6 separate regions of the Homo sapiens genome follow, and regions 1, 3, 4, 5 and 6 are each linked to region 2. Evidence: promoter capture Hi-C in 16 types of primary human blood cells and fetal thymus (Javierre and others, 2016). All regions are on one chromosome and are shown on one strand. The core of a region is centred on a gene start or on the middle of the fragment in contact, and the rest is flanking DNA. Distances in the headings are between cores, read along the strand shown. Region 1 overlaps MOB1A (MOB kinase activator 1A). Region 2 holds the start of STAMBP (STAM binding protein). Region 3 overlaps MOB1A (MOB kinase activator 1A). Region 4 has its middle 6.2 kb from the start of MTHFD2. Region 5 has its middle 18 kb from the start of BOLA3. Region 6 overlaps TET3 (tet methylcytosine dioxygenase 3).

Region 1 (4,799 bases), core at 1,090-3,589, 320 kb after region 2:
GAGATTGAGCCACTGCACTCTAGCCTGGGCGACAGAGTGAGACTTTGTCTAAAAAACATAAATAAAATAAAATGAAATGAAAACATTTGCTACTTGAAATCCTTCAGATTCCCCATCGCCTACCTACAGGCAAAACTCTCAAGTTCTTTTGTATGATTTAACCACTATCTACCTGTCCAACTGAAATCTACCCTTCAGTAATATTATACTTGCACCTCCCTTCATAAGCTATGCTACAAGTTTGGTTATGCAGTTGCCCACCTTTTAAGGTTCAAGCCTTGTCTTCTCCAAAGAGCCACCTCTGACTGCCTCACAGTAAGCTTAGGGCCCGCAACTTACCTGTAACTTTTGTTGCACTTATGGCCTTTTACAACTATCAATTTATGTATGTGTCTGTTCTCACTGGTTTATAAGCTCCCTGAGGACAGAGCCTTGCTTGAGTCATCTGTCAGCAGCCCAATATGGGACAAAAAGTGCATGCATTGTAATTACTGAACAGAACTGATAGAGGCTCAGCAATTTGCGCTCCATAGGTCTAAGTTTGAACTTTTCTAGAAAAGGATTTGCAGGACGATCTGACGAATCTTGGGCTTCCAAATTAGTTCCAACAGTTCTAGTATTTTTTTTTTTTTTTGACAGAAGCAAATAAGTAAGTTTTACTTTGTGATTAAAACAAAAGTGAAATGCATTTAGTCCCAGGAAATGTCAATCCTTTCTGCATCTTACTTTTTTTTGCTGTGACCTCGAGATTCTCTTGTTCTCTTCAGTTGTATTGGTCCATGATCACTCATAGCTTTCATACACATATATACATCTGAAACTCAGAAAATTCATTAGGTAGGAACTCTTTGGATGCATCTCCTTTTTTAACCTCATTGGGATGATTTTTCGTTGCACCATCATTTTATAGAGCTTCCTAGCACTGCTGAGCATGCAGAATTTTTGCAAATGCAATCCAGAGAAACAGACTTGCTATATACTAGCTATTTGAACTTGTCTGAGCTTATGTGGCATGGTCTAAAGAATACTGAAATATTTCTGGCATACCTCTTAATTGCAGTCACTTTCTCCAGGTTGCTTTATGGATTAAATGAGATAACCTACTAAAGGACTCCAGTAAAAAGCTAAAAAGGTAGCTAGCTTTTGAGGTGTTGTGGCAGACTGGCATCTAGTGGCCAGCGATAAAGGTGCAGACTAGTGTCCACACCTAAGTGGGGACAGTGCAGGCTGTAATGTCCATACCTAGTGGGGACATCAATGGGGTATTTGTCAGAGAAGCTCCATGGCATAGTTTGGACATTGTTTCTGGCTGTGCAGGTTCAAACCCAGAGTCTGGCTCTCCCAAAGATTATCTGAGTTATTCTATTATTTTACAAAGTTTGAAATAGCCATTAGATACCCTTACAAACTTATCATTTTTGTGATTGATTTTAAGTCTACTGAAAATGTCAAAAGAAATCCAAAACTGATTGCTAGTAACTAGGCCAGGTGTGGTGGCTCACACCTGTAATCCCAGCACTTTGGGGCCGGGGCAGGCAGATTGCTTGAGCTCAGGAGTTCGAGACCAGCCTGGGCAACATGGCAAAACTCCATATTTACAAAAAATACAAAAAATTAGCCGGACATGATGGTGTGTGCCTGTTGTCCCCGCTACTAGAAGGCTCAGAAAGAAGGATCACTTGAGCCTGGGAGGCGGAGGTTGCAGTGAGCCAAGACTGTGCCACTGCACTCCAACCTGGGCAACAGAGACCCCAGCTCAAAAAAATAAAATTAGTGTTAACTTGTACTGTTTAGCCACATTCATTAAGTTTTTAATTTTAACTCTACTATCGCACAACCAGGAATGTACAAGAGATCTGGAGCCTGATTTGCATGGCAGGAAGGAGACCACGTATTTTTGTTTGGGATGGGTTTTAGCCACTATCAGAGACATAGTTTGTTTCTTAGGGGTTCGGTCCCAGTAGTATGATACTTAGTTCATTTAGGAACTTCCTTTTTTAACGGCTAAGAAAACATTTTAGCTACTAAATGATATGCAAAGATAACTTTCCAAATTTAAGCTGTACTCAAAAATCCACAGAATCTGCAAAACTCTCAAGTTTCTATATTTAAATAGAAATGTGTGTTGATATACATACTTTAATCAGTCATTTCTTGCTTTCAATATATTTTATTCTGACGAAGTTACAAAAGTAGATACAAAATACTTTTTTTAGAAGTACAGTTAACTGACTTAGAAAAATAGATAAAGCCCCTAAGGATTTTAAAACACAACATAAATTTTTATGTAAAGAACATTTAAAAATATTTTAGATGGTAACCAAAACTAACTTACACAAACTATTTTTGATGTAGAATAGAATGCTGTTCTATAATAAGAAGTCTGTAGCACACTGGTAATCCATTTGGATCTACAGAATACTTGTTTGGAACAGAATCTGATAATGAGAGAAAACTCAAATGAATGTCAGTGCAGTTGCTTCAAAAAAATTACTGCTACCACATGTACTATCATCCCCCAAGGCCTTTTACAGTCTGAAATATCAAAATTGAAAGCAAAAATAGGATGACCAAAGGACTACTATTTTACCTCTTTTCAGAACTCTACAATAGTAGAAACTAAATTCCCTTATGGATCTCAGGGGGAAATAATGTGCCTGTTGAAGGGGCTCAGTGTTTGGTGTCCAGGCTGGCATTTTTCAGGTGAGGGTTTCATACTGACAGGAGGCAGGCTCCTAAAACAAGGCGGTAGCACCAGCACCATGACTAGGGCTGCTTTAAAACAAATTTCTAGGACTTACGCTCTTTGGGCCTGATTTGTTAATGCTTATGAGGTAATGATATTATGTTTGAGAAGCTCTACTTCTAGTATACCTCAATGCTCAGAGAGAAAGCCAACAATACAATCAGGAAACCACAATATTGACAAAACTTAGTACTACCACCAAGATTGTTCCTCTTGCCTTGGCACTACTAAAAAACTTTACCTTTGTTACTAAAGTCATGGTGAATACAGATTTTGCATTTCTCATGTAAGCAGCTATATAAGCTAGGGTTCTACAAGCCTTAGATGAAAGGAAAAACTTTGCTGGAAGCCCTGTAAAAATCACTTTATTCACAATCTGAAGAATGAAAGACAAATTTGGCTGTCAATACAAAAACTGTAGTACAAGGAAGTTCAACTGTTTAAAAATCTGCACATCACTGTACAAGTGTTTTTTGAAGGCCTGAAAATTAAAGCACCATAGGATTAACTGCATAATTTAGCAAGCACTCTCTACCCCATGACTGTAATCATGTATGAAGAGCAGAGATCAGACACTGAGAGGAGATGGCTTCTGATTAGCAAGGGGGAAGGGAGTGAGTGTTATGGAACAGGCAAACCTTGGGCATGGGGAGATAAAAGTGAGAAGAGTCAAAAAGATTGATTTCTATAGGCCGGGCACGGTGGCTCATGCCTGTAATCCCAACACTTTGGGAGGCTGAGGCGGGCGGATTGCGAGGTAAGGAGATGGAGACCATCCTGGCTAACACGGTGAAACCCCATCTCTACTAAAAATACAAAAAATTAGCCAGGCATGACTAAAAATAGAAAAAATTAGCTGGGCGTGGTGGCGGGCACCTGTAGTTCCAGCTACTCAGGAGAGGCTGGGGCAGGAGAATGGCATGAACCTGGGAGGCAGAGCTTGCAGTGAGCCGAGATCCCACCACTGTACTCCAGCCTGGGTGACAGAGTGAGACTCTGTCTCAAAAAAAAAAAAAAAAAAGATTGATTTCGTCAAACTGTTATCAAAGGTTGGCCCTCTAGCCAACTCAGGAAGGCGCCATCCTCTTCCCATTATCTCCCCTTCCTCCAATTCTCCTCCTCCCCTTGGCTCCCTAGCCTTGGAGGTAAACACTAATATTTCAGTGCACTGTTGGTTAAGCCAGATTGGCTTGGGAACCTGGTAATGTTTTTATTTTTATTTTAAAAAAGGACAGTCTTGAGTCTCAAAATACCAACACATCTCTGATTTATGTCCCATTTATAAGCTGCCTTTACTACTGTCCTGACATGTGATCGTCTTTCATTTGCTTTGGAGCTTAGTGGTGAAGAGAGGGAACATTTCCATAACTGAAAATAAATGGAGAAAAGTGGTAACTCTTTTGTTTGAGAATATTTGAAATACTAGAAATAATGAGGAAAGTACAAGCCTAGCTGAGAAACTAGTTTCATCACTTGTGGACTTAAAAAAGTAAAGCTAACAGGGTTTAAAGTTGAGAGGCAGTTCACATCCTAAGTGATACCTAGAAACCTGCTTTCTTGTTCGCAAATGATCAACATGAACATACAGAATGGCTGACATTTGGACCTTTGGATAAGCTTAAAACATGGATTGTGGAATGTCTAATAGAGGGCTTTTCTCTCTTTTTTTTAATAATGACTGTCCCACACTTTAATTCCTCAATGATATGTGGATGCTAACTAAATCAGATGAAATGTTTTCTTTAAAATTCTGTATATATTTAAGAATTTCTAGGAAATGATTATTTAAAATGGAGTTTCTAAGTAATTATTTTCTTTATAGTTTAGTGGAGTAAGAAAAATAAATCTAAAAAAAAACATCAAATCTAACCTTTATCAAAGCCATCGAGGAGGTTGGTAAAATACTTTGCAAAAATCACAGCTCTGAACCACATAGAATGCTGATGAACTTAAAGCTTTGCCAGTTTGGCAAGTCTTCCAGTATAATACTTGTTGTGCCTCAGTACATTTTAAATAGACAGCTAGAGTTTACTAAATCCTAGGAATCAAATAA
Region 2 (4,620 bases), core at 1,548-4,047:
CTTGCAAGTGAAATACACCTAGAGTCTTCCTTGTTTTTACCCTCCCTGACCCCCGAACTCCGCTGGGTCTGTATTTTTCCTTTTCTTCTTTTTGCTTTTTAGCAATAGGAGTCTCACTATGTTGCCCAGGCTGGAATGCAGTGGCTATTCACAGGTGAGATCATAGCACACCACAGCCTTAAACTCCTGGGCTCAAGTGATCCTCCTGGGTTTTTTGTTTGTTTTGTTTTGTTTTGTTTTTTTAGAGGTCTCACTCTGTTGCCCAGGCTGGAGAGCAGTGGTGTAATCATAGCTCACTATATCCTCGAACTCCTGGGCTCAAGCGATCCTCCTGTCTCAGCCTTCCAAAGTGCTGGGATTACAGGCGTGAGCCAGCGCACCTGGTCCAGGCCTGTGTTTTCTAAACCCCGATGTTACATTTCAGATTAAGAACTTCACCTTCTAGGCATCTTTTGCTGCTGCCCAAAAATGAGCAAGTAGGAATGAGCATGCAGGAGTGCAGGAGACCTGACGTTGGCATATGCAAGCGGCCAGATGGAGGCTGCTATATTCAGGAAAAGTGTTCATGGCTGGGAGTGAGCACCGGAAGGAAAGAGCATCTCAATTCCTAACCTGGTCTAGTCTGCCAGGTGAACTGCTGAAGCCTATTTGCTGAAGGAATACCTTCCACGCTTAGCCTCCAATCTTTAGGGCAGGGGTAGGTAGGATATTCTCATCAGTTATGCCAAGAATCTTTTATAGCTTTGATTTCCTGATTGTGTATACAAAATTGTTTAGTTTTTAAACTTTTCCAGTTAAACAAGAAATGAGGAATGTAAAATTTTTACCTTGGCCAAGATTTTCTTATTTCAGGTCCCTAGAAAGCTGAGTATTGAACTTTGCCCCAGATATCAAAAACTCTGGTCAACATTTACAAATTCTCTCCCTAAAAAGACTAGATCCTGCTTCCTATATTCACTTAGCTATTACCTTAAGAACTGCTAGCAACTGGGCATATTAACTTTCTAATATCAGGAACAGCCTCTATGTGGCGCTAGCTATGTTTACGACTATGCACACCCCTTATATGTGTGTCTCAGTTATAGCTTCTTAAAGTCTTCTCATCATAATCTTAAAATCTAGGATGTTTGTAAATTTTCTTTACTTGTTAAGCTAAACATTATAAAAAAAAGAACTACTTTAGAGATTGTGCTGAATGGGAGCAGATGCCCCTCCCTACCCCACCAGCTGTACTTCTACCTGTGCTTCCACCATTAGAGTATCCACCTGCTGGGTTTGTTTGCTGATGTATCCCTAACACCTAGAACAGAACCTGGCACATAGTAGACACTCAGTAAACATTTACTGAGTGAGAGGTTGAATGGATCAGATTTTGACCTGTGTTGCCTCCTGCCAGGACCCCATCTGCACTATAATGCCCACCCAATGACCAGCATCTCCAGTGCATCAATTTCTTTAGGCCCAACCCATCATGTTTACATTCTGAAGAGAGTCAGTAGAGAGAGTTTTGAAGACACAGTAGAGTGCCCTATACAATTATCTTCCCAGATTTATCTGCAGTAGATCCATGAGAGTTGATAGTAGACCCATGCACATTAATGCTTGCTGGGGGCAGAAGGGGAGGTGATATGATGCAAGCAAGTACTTTCAACCCTAAGTCTGAAAAGTTGATGACTACACAAAATCACTTCAGGTAACTCCAACAGAAATATACACAACGGAGGTTGGGAGAAATGAGAGATCTGGAGGCTGGCTAGGTGGAGGAGGCAACACCTGAATTAGGGATTTAAGCTAGACCTTGAAGAATAGGTCATGCCATCACACTAACAAACTCACAGGGAGGCTCCCAAATTTTGGGAAAGTGTCCCCCAGAGACTTAGACTTTTAAACCAAAGCCTAATGTTTCACAAAGTCTTCTGAGACAGAATGATTAGCAAGCTTGTAGGACCTTTTTGTAAAGAGGATGTATATGGATTCGTACAGACACACATCTACATGCAGAACGTGCCATTCTGTATTTGATGCATAAAACCACCTTGTCCCGGTCTCAGGGCAGGAACAGTGTCATACAGATTTTTGTGTCTCCACTGCTTTTGCATAGCGGCTCTTAGAGATTAAACGCTTTTTTTCCAAATATTTTATAGGTTTTTTGACATTAAAACGTTAGTCTCATCTGGGTGCGGTGGCACACGCCAGTAATCCCAGTACTTTGGGAGGCAGAGGCAAGAAGATCGCTTGAGCCCTGAAGTTGGAGACCACAGTGAGCTATGATCACACCACTGCACTCCTGTGACAGCCTGGGTGACACCGCAAGACCCTGTCTTAAAAAAAAAAAAAGTTAGACTTATGTTCTTTTCTAAGCAATAAAATTAGTCTTAGATATTGCCTAATATCTAAGACTACCAATTTTTGTGTAGAATGTAATACAAGCTAAAAAATACATTCGAAAGACTTTCTGTCCCCCAATTTATAAATCCTGGTTAGTTTAGCTAAGTCTGCAGTTGTGCTGGGATCAGCAATCCCTCCTTAAATGCAGGAGTATTGTGAGTGTGATGAGGGACTACCCCAAATCAAAATAATTTTAAAAGCAAACCTTAGCTTGCTAATTGGTTCCACTTTCTTCCTTGTTCCTTTTCCTTTACCAAGATGGCCGCTGTGTCGTTCGCTCCTCATTGGTCGGATTTTCCGCAGGTGCCGATTCTAGCCCCACCTACTAGCTCTCCGTTCCAAGTCCTAAATCACTGGGAATGTAATAGACAGACGAACGGGAGTGGGCGGAGCGGGCGCCGGATGTGACGTTTCCGGAACCTCCGGGTGTCATCCGCGGGGAAAGGTGGGGAAGGGTCCCGGGAACGTGGTGGGGCAGGGCCTCCGAGCGTGGTTGGACTTTGAAGGGGATCGGCCGCCGTGAGTGTGGGGCCTGCAGCCTACTCTCCCCGAGTCCCCTGCCCGGCCTGCCTCGCTCGAGGCACCCGACGGCTTCTGTCTCCGCGGGCTGGCGCCTGACCAGCCAGGCCCAGCGGTTCCCCGCCTACTGCATTTGAAAGATCCCGAAAACCCTGGATGATTGTGCCTGGGGTTGGCAAGTTCGTCTTGAGTGCCTTCAAGAAGGGTTCCTCAAGCAGTTGTCGATAGAGCCCTCCCTACTGTATACGCCCCCTCCGCTCATTCCTGCTACTTCCTTTCTCCTCCTCGTATTTCCCCCTCGGTCCTTTACGCCGCCTTTCCCCCTCATTTGCAGATGCTGCATCCCCTTTTTGGAATTGCTCAACCAGGTGGTAACCGGCGCCGCTTCCTGGCCTTGGGAGGTGGTTCCTTTCTTAACCCACAAGAACCTCTCCCAAGAGGTACTGAGATGCAACAAGCATCCTCTGTTTCAGTTAACTTTCATGGGCCGTGGACTAGGTTTACTAATTACTTGGGGAGGTTTTAGATATGCTTGCGGCTTTCTGAGTCCCTAAGGAGGCCTCGTGAGAGATGGACTATCTCTGCATCCCTAGTAGTCCTCACGGCTTTTGTGCTATTAGTGAGGGTGTTTTAGAGGGGAAGGTTTGTGGAGGAATTGTGACCCGAATATTGAAGAGACCTAAAGATGGAATTGGCTGAGAGAAGACTACCCCTGAGGGAAGAGTTGTAGTAGAAAAGAAAAACTGGATAGATAAATGAAACTGAAATGTGAGGATGCCTGGGCGGATTGGAATCCTGACTGAAGCAAAAGATCTCTGTTGGGGAGGGCCAGTTGCCACAGGGCCTTGAATTCCAAGATTTATTCTACTGTAGTTTGTGTATTCTAGAGCATACTGATTAGGGTTTGCTGTAATGCAATGTGTGTCAAATGCCCAGTTTTATTTTGGAGATGATAGTGGTGATATCTGGTTGGAATTTGGAATCTGATTCTAACAGCAACTATATCTAGAAAGACTAGAATTACTGGAGTTTTGGGACACCAGGGGTTTTTGCAATGCAAGTTACCATCGTGCCTTTTTGTTATTCAGTGTTTAGTCTATGAAGATGAGTAAATGGTTGTTTTCAAGATTTAAGTCTCTTGCCATGATAATGATGAATGAATGATTTTATAGATTGACTATAGTGGTTTAGTGAGCAGAGTTACAATTATGAGCATTAATTCCCAGACCAGTTCCCCTAACTCACCTTGTGCTCAAATATGAAAAAGGATACCACAGAAAATGTCAGTTACTCTCAGATTAAGTAAAAATGGTCAACCTTGAAGTTAGTTAACAATCCTCAAGAAAGTTCACTGAGTGCACTCTGCCAGGTACTGGGGTGGAGGTATGTGGGTATCTGGAAGGAGAAATAATAGAAAATAAAAGATGCTGTTCCCACTTTTACAGTGCTGTGGGCGGAGCCCCCTAATGGCAAAGGATTTGATTAACTTGAACTGAACCTTTGGTTGGTCCACTGTGGTTCTACTCCTTATACCACCTAATTATGGTACAGGGGTTGTATGTTTTCTAGTCTGCCAGTACTCTCATCGTTGTGATTTGGGCTTCCTTGAGGGTCTCAGCCTTCTTGTAGGAAAGTCCTTATTTAATAGGAGCCACAGCATTTGGTATGTTTCTCTTATATTTTCTTCTTAAGGTAGAGGTCTGTGAGATAAAC
Region 3 (4,390 bases), core at 1,513-4,012, 340 kb after region 2:
AAAGTCCCCTGCCCTGGAGTCTCTAGCTAACAGAAAGGACAAAATTAAAAGAGATGAATAATATAAGATATGGCCAGGCATGGTGGCTCATGCCTGTAATCCCAGCACTTTGGGAAGCTGAGGTAGAAGGACTGGTTGAGCCCAGGAATTCAAGACCAGCCTAGGCAACAGAGTGAGATTCCATCTCTACAAAAATTTTTAAAAAATTAGCCAGGCGTGGTGGTGCACACCTACAGTCCCAGCTATGTAGGAGGCTGAGGCGAGAGGACTGCTTGAGCCCAGGAGGCTGAGGTTGCCGTGAGCTGTGATGGTGCTACTGCACTCCAGCCTGGGTGACAGAGACACTGTCTCAAAATAAAAATAGCAATAATAGTACAAGATATAAGAAGACAGGATCCAAAGGCCAACGATAAATGCTACAGAGAAAAGGCAAAGTCATGAAGAGTTGGAAGTAGTCAGGGGGTACTTCCTGAGGGAGCTTCAGCTAGATCCAGAATAAAATGGAAGAGGCAGGGGGTGAGTAAATAAACTTTACTGAGTGAGTATACTCTATGCAAAGAGAACCACATAAGCCTTGGAAAGTTTCAAAAAATGTTTTAGGCTAGGTGCAGTGGCTCACGCCTATAATCACAGCACTTTAAGAGGCCAGGATTTGAGACCAGTCTGGGCAACACAGCTAGACCCCGGTCTCTATTGAAAATTTTAAAAAATTAGTTAGCCATGGTGGCACACGCCTGTAGTCCCAGCTACTCAGGACGCTGAAGTGGAAGGATCCCTTGAGACTAGGAGTTCAAGGTTGCAGAGAGCTGTGAGGGTACCACTGCAGTCCAGCCTGGACAACCCTGTCTCGAAAAAATAAATAAATAAAAAGTTTTAGTCTCCTGTCTAAAGAAGTACCTAAAAACAACTAGGTATTTTCCAAGTTTCTTAAAAAACAAATAGATTTTTTTAAAATGCTATCTTGTAAAAGGAATTTTATACAAAACTCCCTCACTTATAAATCTTCCTCTTAGTCATGTTTCTAAGAAAGTAACACTTAGGTATTCAATATTCACTCAAAACAAAAAATATGCCCAGGTGGAAGTTGGTTTGGTCTAGAAGAGCTATTCTCAAAACGTGGTCCAGGAATCCCCTATCTGAGGGAGGATCTGTAAGGTCAAACCATTTTAATTGTTCTTTTCACTCTTACTCTCTCAAGAGGGCACAATGGTGTTTTCCAGAGGCTCCATGATGTGTAATATCACAACAGACTGAATACAGAAACGGATATAAGAATCCAGGTGTCTATTAAGCCAGACATTAAATAAGATTTGCAAAAATATAAAACAATGCCATACTTCTCACTAAAATTTGTTATGGAAAATAGTCATTTTTCGTAAAAACATATTTATGGTAACATGTAATGGGTTTATTATTGTTATTTTAAAATGAATTTGGGCCGGGTGCAGTGGCTCACGCCTGTAATCCCAGCACTTTGGGAGGATGAGGCAGGCGGATCACTTGAGGCCAGGAGTTCTAGAACAACCTGGCCAACATGCCAAAACCCCGTCTCTACTGAAAATACAAAAATTAGCCGGGCATGGTAGCACATGCCTGTAATCCCAGCTACTCTGGAGACTGAGGTGGGAGAACTGCTTGAAGCCAGGAGGCAGCTGCAGTGAGCCAAGATCGTGACACTGCACTCCAGCCTGGGCGACAGGGCGATACTGTCTCGAGAGAAAATAAAAAATAAAAATAACTATTTACATCTTCTCAGTTTTAATTTCCAACAGAGTATCACGAGATATACCCAATATAATTAAAAGCTCTTTGGGGTTCTCAATAATTTTTTTTGTATTTTTTGTATTTTACCTTGTTTTTCCCCCGACTGGGTCTCACTCTGTTGCCCAGGCTGGAGTGCAGTGGTGCGATCTTGGCTCACTGCAACCCCCGTCTCCCAGGTTCAAGCAATTCTCCTGCCTCAGCCTCCTCAGTAGCTGGGATTACAGGTGTGTGCCACCACACCCAGCAAATTTTTGTATTTTTAGTAGAGCTGGTGTTTCACCATGTTGCCTAGGCTGGTCTCGAACTCCTGACCTCAAGTGATCTGCCAACCTCAGCCTCCCAAAGTGCTGGGATTACAGACATGAGCCACCATGCCCAGCTTGTATTTTACTTTTTTAATTAACACAGAATGGTACATATTTATGGGAATCAATAATTTTTTAAGAGGGTAAGTGGATCTGAGACCAAAAAATTTGAGAACTGCTGATCTACAGCAGTTAAGTCTCAAAGAAAAATCTAAGGCTGAAGGTCAATAAATGACTTCAGAATAACAGATGATAATCTGAATAAAGTTTTGTTTGTTTGTTTGTTTTTGTGTGTGTGTGTTTTTTTAAGATGGAGTCTTGCTCTGTCGCCCAGGCTATAGTGCAGTGGCACAACCTCAGCTCACTGCAACCTCCACCTCCCGGGAAGTGATTCTCCTGCCTCAGCCTCCAAGTAGCTGGGACTACAGGTGCGTGCCACCACACCTAGCTAAATTTTTGTATTTTTAGTAGAGATGGGGTTTTACCATGTTGGCCAGGATGGTCTCAATCTCCTGACCTCGTGATCCGCCTGCCTCGGCCTCCCAAAGTGCTGGGATTACAGGCGTGAGCCACCATGCCCGGCCCTGAATAAAGTTTTTTAAAAAAGGTTTTTTTTTGGCTGGGTTTTTTCCAGCACTTTGGGAGGCCATGGTGGGTGGATTACCTGAAGTCAGGAGTTCGAGACCAGCCTGGCTAACATGGCAAAACCTCGTCTCTACTAAAAATAGAAAAATTAGCCAGGTGTGGTGGCGGGCACCTGTAGTCCCAGCTACTCAGGAGGCTGAGGCAGAAGAATCACCTGAACACAGGAGGAGGAGGTTGCAATGAGCTGAGATCGCGCCAGCCTGTGCGACAGAGCAAGATTCCATCTCAAAAAAAAAAAAAAAAATTAGCAGGGCATGGTGGTGTGAGCCTGTAGTCCCAGCTACTCGGACGGGTGAGGTGGGAGGATCACTTGAGTCCAGAAGTTGAGGCTGCAGTGAGCTATGATCATGTCACTGCACTCCAGCCTGGGCAACAAAGCAAGACCCCATCTCTGAAGAAAAAAAAAGAGATTCAAGAAGCATACACACAGGCCTCTTTGGATCCTGATTTAAACAAAGCATAGATTTTTAAAGCAAAAAAATTTTAAAAAGAAAACATTTGGCCAGGTGCGGTGGCTCACGCCTGTAATCCCTGCACTTTGGGAGGCTGAGGCGGGCAGATCACTTGAGGTCAGGAGTTCGAGACCAGCCTGGCCAACATGGCAAAACCTCCTCTCTACTAAAAATACAAAAATTAGCCGGGCGTGGTGGCGGACACCTGTAATCCCTCAGCTACTGGGGAGGCTGAGGCAGGAGAATTGCTTAAACCCGGGAGGTGGAGGTGGAGGTTGCAGTGAGCCAAGATTTCGCCACTGCACTCCAGCTTGGGTGACAGAGCAAGACTCCATCTCAAAAAATAAAATAAAAAAAAAATAAAAAATAAAAGAAACATTTATGGGACAGTCATGAAAAATGTGAACACTGACCAGATATTTGATAAGTTAAAGGAGGATGGCATTGTCATTATCTTTACAAGTTCTTGTCTTTTAGACATACCTTACTGAAATATTTATAGATAAAACATCATGTCTGGGATTTGCTTAAAATAATCAGGGTGACATATAGAAGAAGAAAAATTGGTCACAAACTGATATTTGTTGGAGCTGGGTAATGGAATGAATACCTGGAATTCACTGTACTTAGTCTACTTTTATATGTTTGAAATTTTCCATTAAGAAGTTTTAGGCTGGGCGTGGTGGCTCATGCCTGTAATCCTAGCACTTTGGGAGGCCAAAGCAGGCAGATTGCCTGAGCTGAGGAGTTCAAGACCAGCCTGGGCAACATGGTGAAACCTTGTCTCTACTAAAATGTAAAAAATTAGCTGGGTGTGGTGGCGTGTGCCTGTAATCCCAGCTACTCAGGAGACTGAGACAGGAGAATGGCTTGAACCCGGGAGGTGGAGGTTGCAGTGAAGCAAGATTGAGCCATTGCACTCCAGTCTGGGCAACAGAGCAAGACTCCATCTCAAAAATAAATAAATAAATAAATAAATAAAAAGTTTTAAACTTTTTATTTAAACTTTTTATTCCTGGAACATCTGAAATCTCTAATTTAAACTTTATTACCCAGAAATGATATCATCTCAGAAATGAGAGACTCTCACATTCAAATCTCTAGCCTTAGCATATTGTCCCATGTCATGCACTTGTTCTCTTGAACTTAAAGTGACTTTCAGCTCAGATCCCTCCATTTTCTCCCAATCTCTCAATTCCCTCTGCCACTCTAAGTCACAACAAT
Region 4 (4,134 bases), core at 467-2,966, 360 kb after region 2:
GAAAGCACCCCTAGTTCAAGGCAACAAACAAGAGTTGAAGAGGCACCTAAGCCCAAATTCTCAGGTCGGAGTTCTCCAAACACGGGATCCTTAAGCAGCTGCCTTTCATCCCCCTTGGTTCATGAAGATGTACAGAGGGGCCCTGTCACTGGCAGCATAATTGCTTGAACCCAGGAAGTGGAGGTTGCTGTGAGCCGAGATCGTGCCACTGCACTCCAGCCTGGGTGACAGAATGAGACCTCAATCTCTGTCTAAAAAAAAAAAAAGCCTGGGCGTGGTGGCTCACTCCTGTAATCCCAGCACTTTGGATGCTGAGGTGAGCAGATCACGAGGTCAGGAGTTCGAGACCAGCCTGACCAACATGGTGAAACCCCGTCTCTACTAAAAATATAAAAATTAGCTGGGCGTGGTGGCGTGCGCCTGTAATCCCAGCTACTCAGGAGGCTGAGGCAGGAGAATCACTTGAACCTGGCAGGCGGAGGATGCAGTGAGCTGAGATTGCGCCACTGCACTGTAGCCTGAGTGACAGAGCAATACTCCATCTCAAAAAAAAAAGATATGTTTGGTCATTAATGTGCTGTCTGCTTGCACACTAAAGATGAATGAGATGAATCATGAGATATAAATTGCCCTGGTTAAATAAGCCTACATCCACTATTGTTGAAGATAGACAGGTGCACAAACAACATCAAGATGTTCTTAGAGTTGCAATAGGAGTATTCCTACATGCTACAATAGCCCAGAGGAAAATGCAATTCATTCTGTCTGTTTTGTGTTGCAGCAAAAAGTTTATTTTGCCTATGTGCGGTCCTGATTCCTGGTTATGTGTCTATGAAGCATTCAGACTCACTTAAAGTGGAGGACTAGGGGCCAGGTTTTTAAGTCAGGCAGGGTAGGGGTACAGGGAGCAGAGAAAGGAGTGTAATCAAACACCATGCAGAAGTGCAGGGTATGCTTAGAGTATAGAGGGCAGAGCAAAGAAAGACGAGGCAGAAAGACTAGCTGGGGTGGGATATAGACAGGCTTGAGCACCTCCACCTCACAGAATTTGGACTAAAATTGGGGCAAAAAATATTTTTGTTAAACAAAAGAGATTTTATTTTATTTTTATCATTATTTTGAAACAGGTTCTTGCTCTGTCACCCAGGGTGGAGTGCAGTAGCACAAGGTGCATCCCGGGATCAAGCCTTCCTCCTGTCTCAGCCTCCCCAGTAGCTGAGACTGATACAGGAGGTAGAAAGAAATTATTTAGGCAGATAGTGAGGGCAAATGAGTCCTCAGCAGAGCTTCCTTTCTAACAAAAAGCAGCCCAAGAAATTAGTTTTCTCCTAACAAAAAGTAGCCTGAAAAATCTAGCTGCAAACATAGGTAAGCAAGCTGGAACATTGCACAGGGGAATGCTGGCAGCTGTGTCAATAGAAAAGGGGTACCTGGGGGCCAGGCATGTCCATCATGGAAGCTTCATCTTCCTTTTTGTTAGCACGTGTACAGTAAGAAAGAAGTGGGCAACATGGCACAGCTTAGGCTGAAAACCCGCCTGCATAATAAAATACTGGGGTGGGGGCTGCCAGAAAATCGTGCCCCATGCAAATGGCACACCTGGTCCTAACCAGCTTTTTGTGCCCTACGTAGATCAGACACAACTTTCCAACCAGCTCATCTATAAAACCTTCTGCATTTCACCGTGGGTCGACAACCCATTTTTCTGGGACCCCTCTCTGTAGCAGAGAGCTATTTTCTTTCTTTTGCCTATTAAACTTCCTGCTGTTAACCTCACTCTTTGTGTGTCCATGTCCTTGATCTCTGTGGCTGTGAGACAATGAACCTCAGGTTTTACCCCAGACAATGAGGCTGCTTCAAGACTACAGGTGCATGCCACCAAAGCCAGCTAATTTTAAAATATTTTTTAAAGACAGAATGTGAACCCAAAATATTTGAGATAGGTCTCAATCTATTTAGAAAGTTTAGTTTGCCAAGCTTAAGCATGCACCCATGATACAGCCACATCAGAAGGTCCTGATTACATGTGCCCAAGGTGGTCAGGGTACAGCTTACTTTTATTCATTTGAGGGAGACATGAGACATCAATCAATATGTGTAATATGTACATTAATTCGGTCCCAAAAGATGGGACAATTCAAAGTGGGGAGTGGTGTGGGGAGGCTTTTACGTCATAGGTAGATAAGATACAAAAGGCTGCATTCTTTTGAGTCCTTGATCAGCGTTTCACTGAATACACAATTTAGTCTGGCTCAGTGAATCTGCATTTTTACATAAACAATAGGGGAGGCCGGACACAGTGGCTCACGCCTGAAATCCCAGCACTTTGGAGGCCAAGGCGAGCAGATCTCCTGAGGTCAGGAGTTCGAGACCAGCCTGGCCAACAGGATGATACCCCATCTCTAGTAAAATATAAAAATCAGCTGGGCATAGTGGCGGGCACCTGTAATCCCAGCTACTCGGGAGGCTGAGGCAGGAGAATCACTTGAACCCAGGGGGCGGAGGTTGCAGTGAGCTGAGATCACGCCATTGCACTCCAGTCTGGGCAACAAGAGCGAAACTCTCTCTCAAAAAAAAACAAAAACAAACAAAACAAAACAAAACAATAGGGCAGAGGAAGCAATCAGATATGCATTTGTCTCAGGTAAGCAGAGGGATGACTTTCTGTCCTGCATCTGTGAAGATCATCTATCAATTTACATTGCCAGGATGAAATTCAACAGAACTGTTTTCAGGTAAAGATCTTGAGACCCACAAGGAATTTCCTTGTGGGCAAATTGTGAGGAAGATATGCAGCTTTCTTTTTTTTTTTTTTTTTTAATCTTTGTAGCTATCTTATTGGGGAATAAATTGGAAGGCAGGTTTGCCTGACATAGTTCCCAGCTTGACTTTCCCCTCAGTTTAGTGATTTTAGAGTCTGAAATTAATTTTCCTTTCACAGGGTGTCACTATGTTGCCCAGGCTGGTCTCAAACTCCTGGGCTGAAGTGATCCTCCCACCTTGGCCTCCCGAAGTGCTGGGATTACAGGTGTGAGCCACCATGCCCAGCCCATTTCATTATTATTATTATTATTATTATTATTATTATTTTATTTATTTTTATTTTTGGGACAGAATCTCGTTCTGTTGTCAGACTGGAGTGCAGTGGCATGATCTCGGCTCACTACAGCCTCTGCCTCCTGGGTTTAAGCGATTCTTCTGCCTCAGCCTCCTGAGTAGCTGGGACTACAGGCATGTGCCACCATGCCCAGATAATTTTTGTATTTTTAGTAGACATAGGGTTTCACCATGTTGGCCAGGATTGTCTCGATCTCTTGACCTCATGATCCGCCCGCCTCTGCCTCCTAAAGTGCTGGGATTACAGGCGTGAGCCCCTGTGCCCGGCCGAGACAGAATCTCTGTCACCCACACTGGAGTGCAGTAATCCAATCATAGCTCACTGCTGCCTCAACCTCCGGGGTCAAGTGATCCTTCCATCTCAGCCTCCCGAATAGCTGGGACCACAGGTGTGCACCACAACGCCTGGCTAAGTTTTTTATTTTTTTGTAGAGATGGGGTCTCACGATGTTGCCCAGGCTGGTCTTGAACTCCTGGGCTCAAGCAATTCTCCCACCTCAGCCTCTCAAAGCACTGGGATTACAGGCATGAGCCACCCTGTTAGACTATTTAGCCTGTTAGACTATTTAGCCTAGTCTAAATAAATGATATTTTAAGAGAGTGGGAGCGTAGAAGCAGGTCCTTTTGTGAAGCATATTAAAAATATATAATAATGTTCACACATGGGTTTCGTAACTCCCCAGTGGGCTCATCTTGCCTGCTGCCTAGATACAGCCCATTTATCAAGACACAGGAATTATAATACAGAGAGCGTTTAATACACAGAGAGCTGGCTAAACCGAAGACTGGAATTTTTTTTTTTTTTTTTGAGACAGAGTCTTGCTCTGTCACCCAGGCTGAAGCGCAGTGGCTCACTGTGACCTCCCGCCTCCCGGGTTCAAGCAATTCTCCTGTCTCAGCCTCCTGAGTAGTTGGGATTACAGGTGCATGCCACCATGCCTGGCTAATTTTTTTTTTTTTTTTTTTTTTTTTGTATTTTTAGTAGAGACGGGGTTTCACCATGTTGGCCGGGCTGGT
Region 5 (4,165 bases), core at 1,537-4,036, 300 kb after region 2:
GGGGATTGGTTCTAATGAGCCATAAATGCTTCCCCTCTTCCTTCAGCACTAGTAGACTACCAGCTTTAGGCATTTAACCAAACGAATTGGAGACAGAAAATATTAAAATCCAGCCATCCTATATCAGATGATGAACTCATTTCCAGACTAACTACCCAAGAAAGCAAGTTAAACACTGTAAAAGCCTAAAACGGGGCAAGTTGGGATTAGCTTTTAAAATGCCTGCCTTGAAAAACACATTATTCTGTGAGGTTTTTTTTTTTTCTTTAAAGTTGTGCAAATTTGATTCGGAAAAATAGCTTAATAGGTTTGTATAGGGCACGGGAGAAGGGGTTGTGTGCATAAATGTATGATGATTATTTTAAGTGTGTGCTTCAGCAGCGACAACAAACAGATGAAGATACGTGATACTGACTAAACAGGCAAGAGTATTTTCTAGTCTCAGTTCTTCTAGTCAATGCCTAAAGTATTAGAAAAAGTACTGAAACAATTCCCAAAGCATCAGGAATTTCCATTTCTAGTCAAAATATTGTTTGTTTTCTTCCAACAGTTCTGTTAAATAAAAGGAAAAGTTATAAAGTTTTAGAGATATATTTAATGTCACAGGTTAATAATGTGTGTATAGAAGCCTTCTCTAACCTTGTTTGTAAATCTACCAAACCTCACCTCAAACAGTGTTCTCCTTAAACCCATCCTTTTTGTGCAAAGCTACTGCTTCCTGATGTCCATAACTCAAGGCATTTTTTTTTTCGCTTGGTGTAGTTTCTGAAATGTGATTATTTAATGTTTGCCAAGATGTTTGGAATAGAGTAACTTTCAACTAATCAATTGATTGTGACTTTCTTCTTTTGTAGTTTTTGTTTTTAAAATTGCTTTCTGTCAAACCCATCTATAATTCCCCCAGAATATATTTATATGGACTAAGGCTTACCAAAAATAAGGAAAATCGGAGAAACTGCCACCGCCAGGAGGAGCCAAGGGGACATGATGACTAAATGTAATCTGGTTTCATGGAGGGGCTACCTAGAAAAAAGACATTAAGGGAAGACTAAGGAAACTTGAATAAAGTATGGGCTCTCCTTAATAATAGTGTAACAAATTCATTGTAACAAATGCCCCATACTAACGTAAGATGTGAATAATCAGGGAAACTGGATGTGGGACATATGGGAACTCCACTATCTTCAAAATTTTTCTGTAAATGTAGAACTGTTCTAAAACAATAAAGACTATAAAAAAATAATAAAGACTATTAGAAAAAAAAAAAGGCTGGGCTTATGCTTGTAATCCCAAGACTTTGGGAGGCCAAGGCAGGAAGATCACTTGAGGGCAGAAATTTGACCAGCCTGGGCAACATAGTAAGACCTCAACTCTACAACAACAACAACAACAACAATAAAATAGCCAGGCATGGTGGTGCACACCTATACTCCCAGCTACTTGGGAGGCTGAGGTGGGAGGATCAGCTGAGCCCCAGAAGTCAAGGCTGCAGTGAGTTGTGAATGCACAACTGCACTTCAGACTGGTTGACAGAGATCCTGTCTCAATTTAAAAAAAAAAAAAAAAAAAAAAAAAGGCTGGGCATGATGGCTCACACCTATAATCCCAGCACTTTGGGATTAGTGCTGGGATTGAGGCAGGCAGATCACCTGAGGTCGTGAGTTTAAGAACAGCCTGACCAACATGGAGAAACCCCATCTCTACTAAAAATACAAACTTAGCTGGGCATGGTGGCTCATGGCTCATACCTGTAATCCCAGCTACTCAGGAGGCTGAGGCAGGAGAATCTCTTGAACCCGGGAGGCAGAGGTTGCAGTGAGCCGAGATTGCACCATTGCACTCCAGCCTGGACAACAAGAGTGAAACTCCGTCTCAAAAAAAAAAAAAAAAAAAAAAAAAAAAAAACCCGGCCGGGCACAGTGGCTCATGCCTGTAATCCCAGCACTTTGGGAGGCTGAGGCAGGCAGATCACCTGAGGTCAGGCGTTTGAGACCAGCCTGGCCAACATGGTGAAACCTCGTCTCTACAAAAAACGCAAAAATTAGCCAGGAGTGGTGGCAGGCACCTGTAATCCCAGCTACTCAGGAGGCTGAGGTGGGAGAATTGCTTGAACCCAGCAGGCAGACTATAGTGAGCCAAGATCGCACCACTGTGCTCCAGCCTGGGAGACAGAGCAAGACCCTGTCTCAAAAAAAAAAATGAATTGAAAAAACCTTAAGGGCATTACTTGAACATCAGTTGTTTTACTCTTTTATGTGATCATCTTTTGTGCCCCCAATGACTTTTTTGTTTTTATATCTTCCAGAGAGAGGCAGGAGTCTGTTGTTACACTCACACTGAATTCCCTGGTGGCTGCTTTATTGGCTTTAGGCCAGGTGCAGTGGCTCACGCCTATAATCCCAGCACTTTGGGAGGCCGAGGTGGACGGATTACCTGAGGTCAGGAGTTCGAGACCAGCCTGGCCAACATGGTGAAACCCCATCTCTACTAAAAAACACAAAAATTAGCCGGGCTTGGTGGCAGGCACCTGTAATACCAACTACTTGGGAGGCTGAGGCAGGAGAATGGCTTGTACCCGGGAGGCAGAGGTTGCAGTGAGCGGAGATTGTGCCACTGTATTCCAGCCTGGGAGACAAAGCAAGAGTCTGTCTCAAAAAAAAAAAAAAAAAAGTTGGCTTTAGTATAGACACTTGGGTTCACAGTTTTGTTTGACCATAGTCACTATGGTTGCTTAGTCTTATTGCAAAAGAAAAGAACCCGTCGGGCATCTTTTAGGTGTACTCTCATCTGCCACCCTAAACACCTTTTCCTTACAGAAAAAATAAATTACACAAATGCTCTTTTAAGTTCACAGCCACAGGGTATCTTACCAGGAGCTAAGAAATGAGGTCAGCTTCCTGGAATGAGGTGCCTAAGGGTAGAGCTGACTCCTAGCATAGCCCGACCAGCAATATTAGCGCCAGTGCAGGTACAAATGTTGGCTGATTGGGCAGGGAGTGGAGAGGCGGTGAGCGTGCAAGAGTGCGCGCTCTGCGGGTTGCGCTCCTTTTGGTGGCCCGAAGAAGGCAGCTGGAGCTCACAAGCCACTGCTGGCGGACTTGAACCGAGAGTGAGTGTCTTATGTAAGACATTTCTTGCAGAGTCGTGGCGAGGAAGCGCGGACTAGGGCGCGCTTGCTGCTCTCCAACAACGTCTGGACCCGGGGATCGAGGGCAGCGGAACCCCCTCCCGTCCCTCCATCTCCACCTTCTCTGTGCTTGGGTGCACCCTGTGGATACAGCCGGCCTGAGGGACCGCAGACTCGTCGGGCTGCTTTCTGATGAGAGGATTAACAAACAATTGCCGGCTGCGACCATTTTGCAGGACAGGCATCTTCTGCGCGCAGGCCACGTCGGGCCTGCCCGGGCTCTGGCTGCCTGGAAGTGCTCCCGCTGTTCACCCCGCGGAATTAGGGGTTGGGGGGCAGTTCCCCGCAAATGGGTGAGGGGGTGGAGGCGAGGTGAATTAATGGATACGCAGTAGCCCCATCGAGGGAAAAGGGGTTGGACGGAGGGGAACTGCGGTGGGCAGGGCAGGCCTAGGGGGCTGGTAGGGGATAAAGAGGAGAGTCCCCCTGTACGGTGACTTACCTGGTCTCGGTGCCTCCGCTCTCCCGTTCCCTCACTAATGAGACTCTTAAATCTGGCAGGGACCCAGGAAGGGATATTTGTAATTATTCCAGGTGGTTCGAATTTGCAGCCAGAATGGGAATCACTGTATCTTCTTTACTTCAATGCCTGCTTTCTCTTAGCACGTTCTTGCCACAACCCTTCATTCATGACCTTCTCAGTCCATTTGTTCAGCTTTGGCCTCTCCAGTCCATTATCTCCGCACTTCCCGATTTGGATTCGCAGGTCCGTTAGCCCTGAGCGCTCCAGCAGCCATTGTCTGGTCGGTGGACTGGCTCTCCGCGGGTCATTCACTCACCTTTCCCACTCTGGATTCCCAAGAAAGGGAATTGAAACCATTGGCTCCTAACCAGTCTGTGTCTGGGTGGGGCTTTGCAGCCTCAGGTCCTCTCTCAGGTTACTGGCCACCCTGTCCCCTACACTGCTAGTTAGGTGGTCTAACCAGGGCTGAGGGGCACTACAGGAACCCAGGAACAAAATGTGCCCAGGGGAGGGCT
Region 6 (4,241 bases), core at 963-3,462, 280 kb after region 2:
AATTGCAAGTATGTATCCTTTTTGATTTGTATTTTATTATAATTTACACAAACAACTGGGTTTGTGAACTGTATTACTCCTGGTATCTTTAAAATATTGTGGGTGTTTTAATAAATTTTATATTTATTTTTTGCACTCAAATTCAGTGTGGGTTCTCTTTTTCCCCTTCTTGAACCAGGACTGGAATGTGATGTGTCAGGTACCCTGTAACCTCACCCACCCACCGTATGTTGTAGATGTACAAATGAAGCCCTCACTAATAGCAGCAGCGGAACCTGGCCTTGTCCATTCTGCCACCTGGATAAAGGAATGTTCAGAGGCTATCAGCTGTTAAAACGGGATCTAAAGGGAGAAAATAGAGATGGCCTTTTTCTCATCTATGTTTCTCTTTTTGTTTTCTTTCCCTTTTATGTTTTTTTGTCCTTTTTTTTCTTTCCACTGGGAGATACCTCCCTCCTACTAAAATTAACTTCTGATGTTTGTTAGGTTTGCTAAAGGATCACCAAATGCTGCTTGGTTCGGATGGCTTGAACAGCAAGTCTAGTAGGGATTGGCTAATATACGGAACCCGAGATTCTGCTGACCAGCGGCAGAGGTTTCCCGCAAGATCCCATGCCTGGAGCTACCTTCTTTAATTCAAATTGCCAATTCTGGAGGTGGCTGTTCTTGAAAAGGGAATATGAATTGAGGAAGGAGGAGAGAGAATAGTGAATCTGCTTGCTCTTCCTCCTTCCTCCTGCATGAAACATCTGACTGAAATTGATCCAGTGTCTTTGAGGGACAACCAGCCCAGCTGTTGATAAGGACTTCAGCAATATCCCAACATCCCAAGTCACTCTAGGTGGGAAAGTTCATCTCTGAGGGCATCTGAGTGAAAATACCATGATCATAATGAGTGCCAGGTGATCGGCTTGGAGGTTTTTATCTCCATTTTACTTTGCTTGCAAAGGAACCCACTGGAAATGCCTTGGCACACCTGGCTATCCAGGGATCCTCAAACATGTTTATATGTTTTACAAAAGTGGGGTCACACTGTGTTTTGTAACCTGCTTTCCTCCTTGAGTTGGAAGAGACCTAGTTCTGTCCCCTTCCTGAGCGCCTGTCATGATGGATCCATCTGCAGAGCCTGAAGGGAGGGCCAGGACATTCCTCCTTCAGCTGGGGCTGGTTTCACTATTGGTTAGCTATAAATATGCTGCCATCTCTTCTTATACAAGTTCCATGTTAAATATAGAAAATTAGAAGACAGAAGTTCTTAAAAGTTATCTGAAATCCCACCACGAGAGAACCGCATATTGGTTGCAAACATTTTGAGTGTGTAAATACGACCCATATGTATTTTTTCAAATGGAATACAATAATACAATCTTGTAATCTTTTTGCACTTAAACTATCTTTATCAGTATGCAGAATAGCATCTTTTTAAATAGTTGCCTAGCAATGTTTTTAGTATGGATACAGAAGCATTTAATCATCCCTGTATCACCAAACTCTTTAACATCCCAAGTTGTTGCAATTATAAATTGAACTAATCTAAATGTGCCTCCATGTAAATCCCACTCAGTCTATTTCTTTCTACGCTGAGAAGCGTTGCAGTAAATTCCCCTCTGCCACGTGACTACATTCTTAATTCCATAAACCTTCTTGTAACAGGTCCAGGCCCTGTCCACCACTACTCCCCACCGTGCCCCCGTCTGTTCACACCTAGAGCATCATTATTCATATTGGGATCTCTAGAAATGAGCAATTTGTTCCAGATGGGATCCGGCTCATGCAAGCCAAGCACAAAGACACCAAGGAGCCCCACGATCTGGACACACTATTTTTATGAGTGTACACCAAGGTTTATTAGCTTTTTAAGCAGCGGCTTGTGGCTTGGAAAGAACATAGATCCCTCACTTCCCAATTGTGTGATTTGATGAGGGTTTCATCTCCCTGTGTCATTTTGTCAATAAGACAGGCTAATGATACCACATAAGATATAAGGATAAAAAAATTGCTACAGAAGTGAAAGTGCCAGGCATTCGGGACATAGCAAGTAATAAGAGCTATCATTATTACTCTTGACATATGCAAAGCTTTAGATCACTAAGGAATCCAAGACTAGTCTTGGGACCACATAGTGACCTCTTCAGTGAACTTTTGCCAAATCAGGTCCACTAACTCAAGTCTGCGTGCAATTTTTTTTTTTAATGCTTCACACAGCAGTTGAAATGTAGCCATCTTAAATGAACTGTTTAACCCACTCTCCCTGCCTATTTTGAATCTTAATTTTGTCAAATATTGGTTTACCCAACCCAGCTACACAACTTGGTCAGCAACTTTGTTGTGTGTTCTGATGCTCTTGTAAGCTTCTTAAGCTTGGAGAGCTGTTAGTCATCTTTGTCTCCCATTGTACTCTGAAAATAATGGGCATTCAACGTCCCATGTCCATGGGATGGTGCATCCATACATACATCATGTCCCTGCAAGGGGACATGAAGCCCTAAAAACATGTTCGACACACATAATCCAGTGTACATTCTTGTCAGAGCCATGAACACAACATAGAAGACGTGAAAGACAAAGCTTTGTTAAATTCTAGATACCCCCCAGCACCTCATCCCCACTCCAGAGGTCTTAGCAGAGGCCTGCTTTCCTCTACTGAGAAGCCCAACCCCAGGCCCAGGGAGCCTGCCCAATTTCCCTCACCACACTTCAAACCATCTTCCTGTATGTTTGTCCTCTTTACTGTACACACACCCCTGCTGCTCGGTACCCCTGACTCTCACTCTCCATGTGCACCCTGTGCTGCTCCTGTGGAACATGCTTCATCCATTAACCCTTTTCTGTGGCTTCTCCCCATCACGTGCTCTCAGGTTCACCCCAGCCTGACCCTGCTGTGCCTCATAGACCTTTCCCACTCCTTCCTATCACCACCACATATCTGCAGGTGTAGACAACCTCCTAGCTTGAAGGTCCATACCACTCACTCACCTGTACCTTTATTTCTCCAGAAATAGTCAGCTTCTGAGCCAGGGATCCTCATCCTCACTGACCTCTGTGAAGCCCTGGAAACCCTCTGCTCCCGGACTGCATAGCCAGGAACATTCCATTGTCCCAGGACCCTGCCCCCTTTCATGAGCCCCTTTGTGACCTCTTGTCCTTTAAACACAAATGCCCCCAAAAGAATCGACTCAGTCTTCTCCACAGACTATAAGCTTTCCTTCAAAGGACTTGTTCAGCCACCAGGCCTCAACTATGACCCTAATGCCAATGATTTCCAAAGCCATGTCTAGCCTCATGAGTTTGGGCTGCTGGATAGCTCTGGGTGGCTCTTTGGTAAGGTCAAAGTCTTAACCAAAACTGACCTCTCAACTCTCCACCAAATTTCCTATTCTCCCAGTCATATCCTGACACCTGCCAAGTCTAGATTCTACATCCTCAGCATTCTCAATCCTGCTTCTCTTTGCTACTTTTATTAGCAACCCACATTGTACAGTCATACAGGCTATGCACTGCACAACTCTGGGGAACACCATTCATACAGACTACCATGTGTAAGCCTTAATTACAGATATGGACTCCTCCCTGATATGGACAGAGGCATGTTGGACAAGGACCACAGTATAGCCCTCTAAAGCTGGGGACCCAGGGCAGAGGCCTCTCATATCTTGGTCTAAATGTGAGACCCTTCAGAAAGGTTGAATGGCTTGCTCAAGACCATCCAGCTAGGAAATGGCAGAGCCCAGAATCAACCCAGGTGTATTTGGTGCCAAAGTTTGTGCCCTATCCAAATATACCCCTGTTTCTTCTGTACCTTAAGACCCACAAACCCAAGGGACATTGTCCTCACTGGTGGGAATCTACCTACCTAAAGCTTAGGGCATGACCTGAGTCTGTGGGTCTATGGGCACAAGAGGCACAGGTTGCAACAAAGTGGCTCCACAGGAAGACTTTGGCTCTTCAGAGCATCTTCAACAGGTATTGTTATTTGAAAGACTTCAATTCTAGCCCCCATTTGATCTCCCTGCCCAGCTTACCAAAGCCAATCTCCTTACTCAGATAATCTTTCTAAAAACCAAATCAGATGATACTATTTCCCTGTAATACTCCTCGATACTCCCCATTTGATACAGCTCTCAGGATAAGACACATTTTAACTTTGCCGCAGGGCCCCACAGGACTTGGCCCCAGCTTGCATCTTTAGTAACACTGCAGGCCATTTGGTGTCTTTTATCTGATTATCTCCTTGGTGCACC

The links. Contacts are between HindIII fragments. The CHiCAGO score rates a contact against its expected background, and 5 or more counts as called.
Region 1: a contact is called between a fragment that was not itself captured here and the fragment with the promoter of STAMBP in region 2, in 17 of 17 cell types (erythroblasts, fetal thymus, endothelial precursors and 14 more). The highest score is 24.8, in erythroblasts.
Region 3: a contact is called between a fragment that was not itself captured here and the fragment with the promoter of STAMBP in region 2, in 12 of 17 cell types (activated CD4 T cells, neutrophils, total CD8 T cells and 9 more). The highest score is 11.1, in activated CD4 T cells.
Region 4: a fragment that was not itself captured here is called in contact with the fragment with the promoter of STAMBP in region 2 in 14 of 17 cell types (total CD8 T cells, activated CD4 T cells, monocytes and 11 more); the score reaches 11.6 in total CD8 T cells.
Region 5: a fragment that was not itself captured here is called in contact with the fragment with the promoter of STAMBP in region 2 in 14 of 17 cell types (M1 macrophages, activated CD4 T cells, non-activated CD4 T cells and 11 more); the score reaches 9.2 in M1 macrophages.
Region 6: a contact is called between a fragment that was not itself captured here and the fragment with the promoter of STAMBP in region 2, in 16 of 17 cell types (M1 macrophages, activated CD4 T cells, megakaryocytes and 13 more). The highest score is 17.3, in M1 macrophages.

Annotation. Positions count from the first base shown.
Region 1 is chr2:74,150,444-74,155,242 of GRCh38, forward strand. It overlaps MOB1A (MOB kinase activator 1A), which reads right to left. Exons shown (of 6, transcript NM_018221.5): 6 at 2,085-4,799. It overlaps BOLA3-DT (BOLA3 divergent transcript), which reads left to right. Exons shown (of 3, transcript NR_045636.1): 3 at 1-1,946. Among named protein-coding and RNA genes, the nearest start is that of BOLA3-DT, 4.9 kb to the left of the region's middle. The HindIII fragment of the contact is 4,043 bases long and covers 319-4,361 here.
Region 2 is chr2:73,826,164-73,830,783 of GRCh38, forward strand. It overlaps STAMBP (STAM binding protein), which reads left to right and starts at 2,798. Exons shown (of 10, transcript NM_213622.4): 1 at 2,798-3,347. It overlaps LOC105374807 (a long non-coding RNA gene), which reads right to left and starts at 4,235. Exons shown (of 3, transcript XR_940246.3): 1 at 4,153-4,235; 2 at 2,594-2,741. RefSeq lists a silencer at 2,569-2,787 and an enhancer at 4,295-4,620. The HindIII fragment of the contact is 5,447 bases long and covers 1,937-4,620 here.
Region 3 is chr2:74,167,784-74,172,173 of GRCh38, forward strand. The region is part of intron 2 of MOB1A (MOB kinase activator 1A); the gene reads right to left. Among named protein-coding and RNA genes, the nearest start is that of MOB1A, 8.9 kb to the right of the region's middle. The HindIII fragment of the contact is 7,349 bases long and covers 1-4,390 here.
Region 4 is chr2:74,190,379-74,194,512 of GRCh38, forward strand. No RefSeq gene overlaps it. Among named protein-coding and RNA genes, the nearest start is that of MTHFD2, 6.2 kb to the right of the region's middle. RefSeq lists enhancers at 1,735-2,461, 2,462-3,189. The HindIII fragment of the contact is 518 bases long and covers 1,458-1,975 here.
Region 5 is chr2:74,127,443-74,131,607 of GRCh38, forward strand. It overlaps a transcript of TET3 not described here. Among named protein-coding and RNA genes, the nearest start is that of BOLA3, 18 kb to the right of the region's middle. RefSeq lists an enhancer at 2,700-3,313. The HindIII fragment of the contact is 7,915 bases long and covers 1-4,165 here.
Region 6 is chr2:74,108,036-74,112,276 of GRCh38, forward strand. It overlaps TET3 (tet methylcytosine dioxygenase 3), which reads left to right. Exons shown (of 12, transcript NM_001287491.2): 12 at 1-141. Among named protein-coding and RNA genes, the nearest start is that of BOLA3, 38 kb to the right of the region's middle. The HindIII fragment of the contact is 273 bases long and covers 2,077-2,349 here.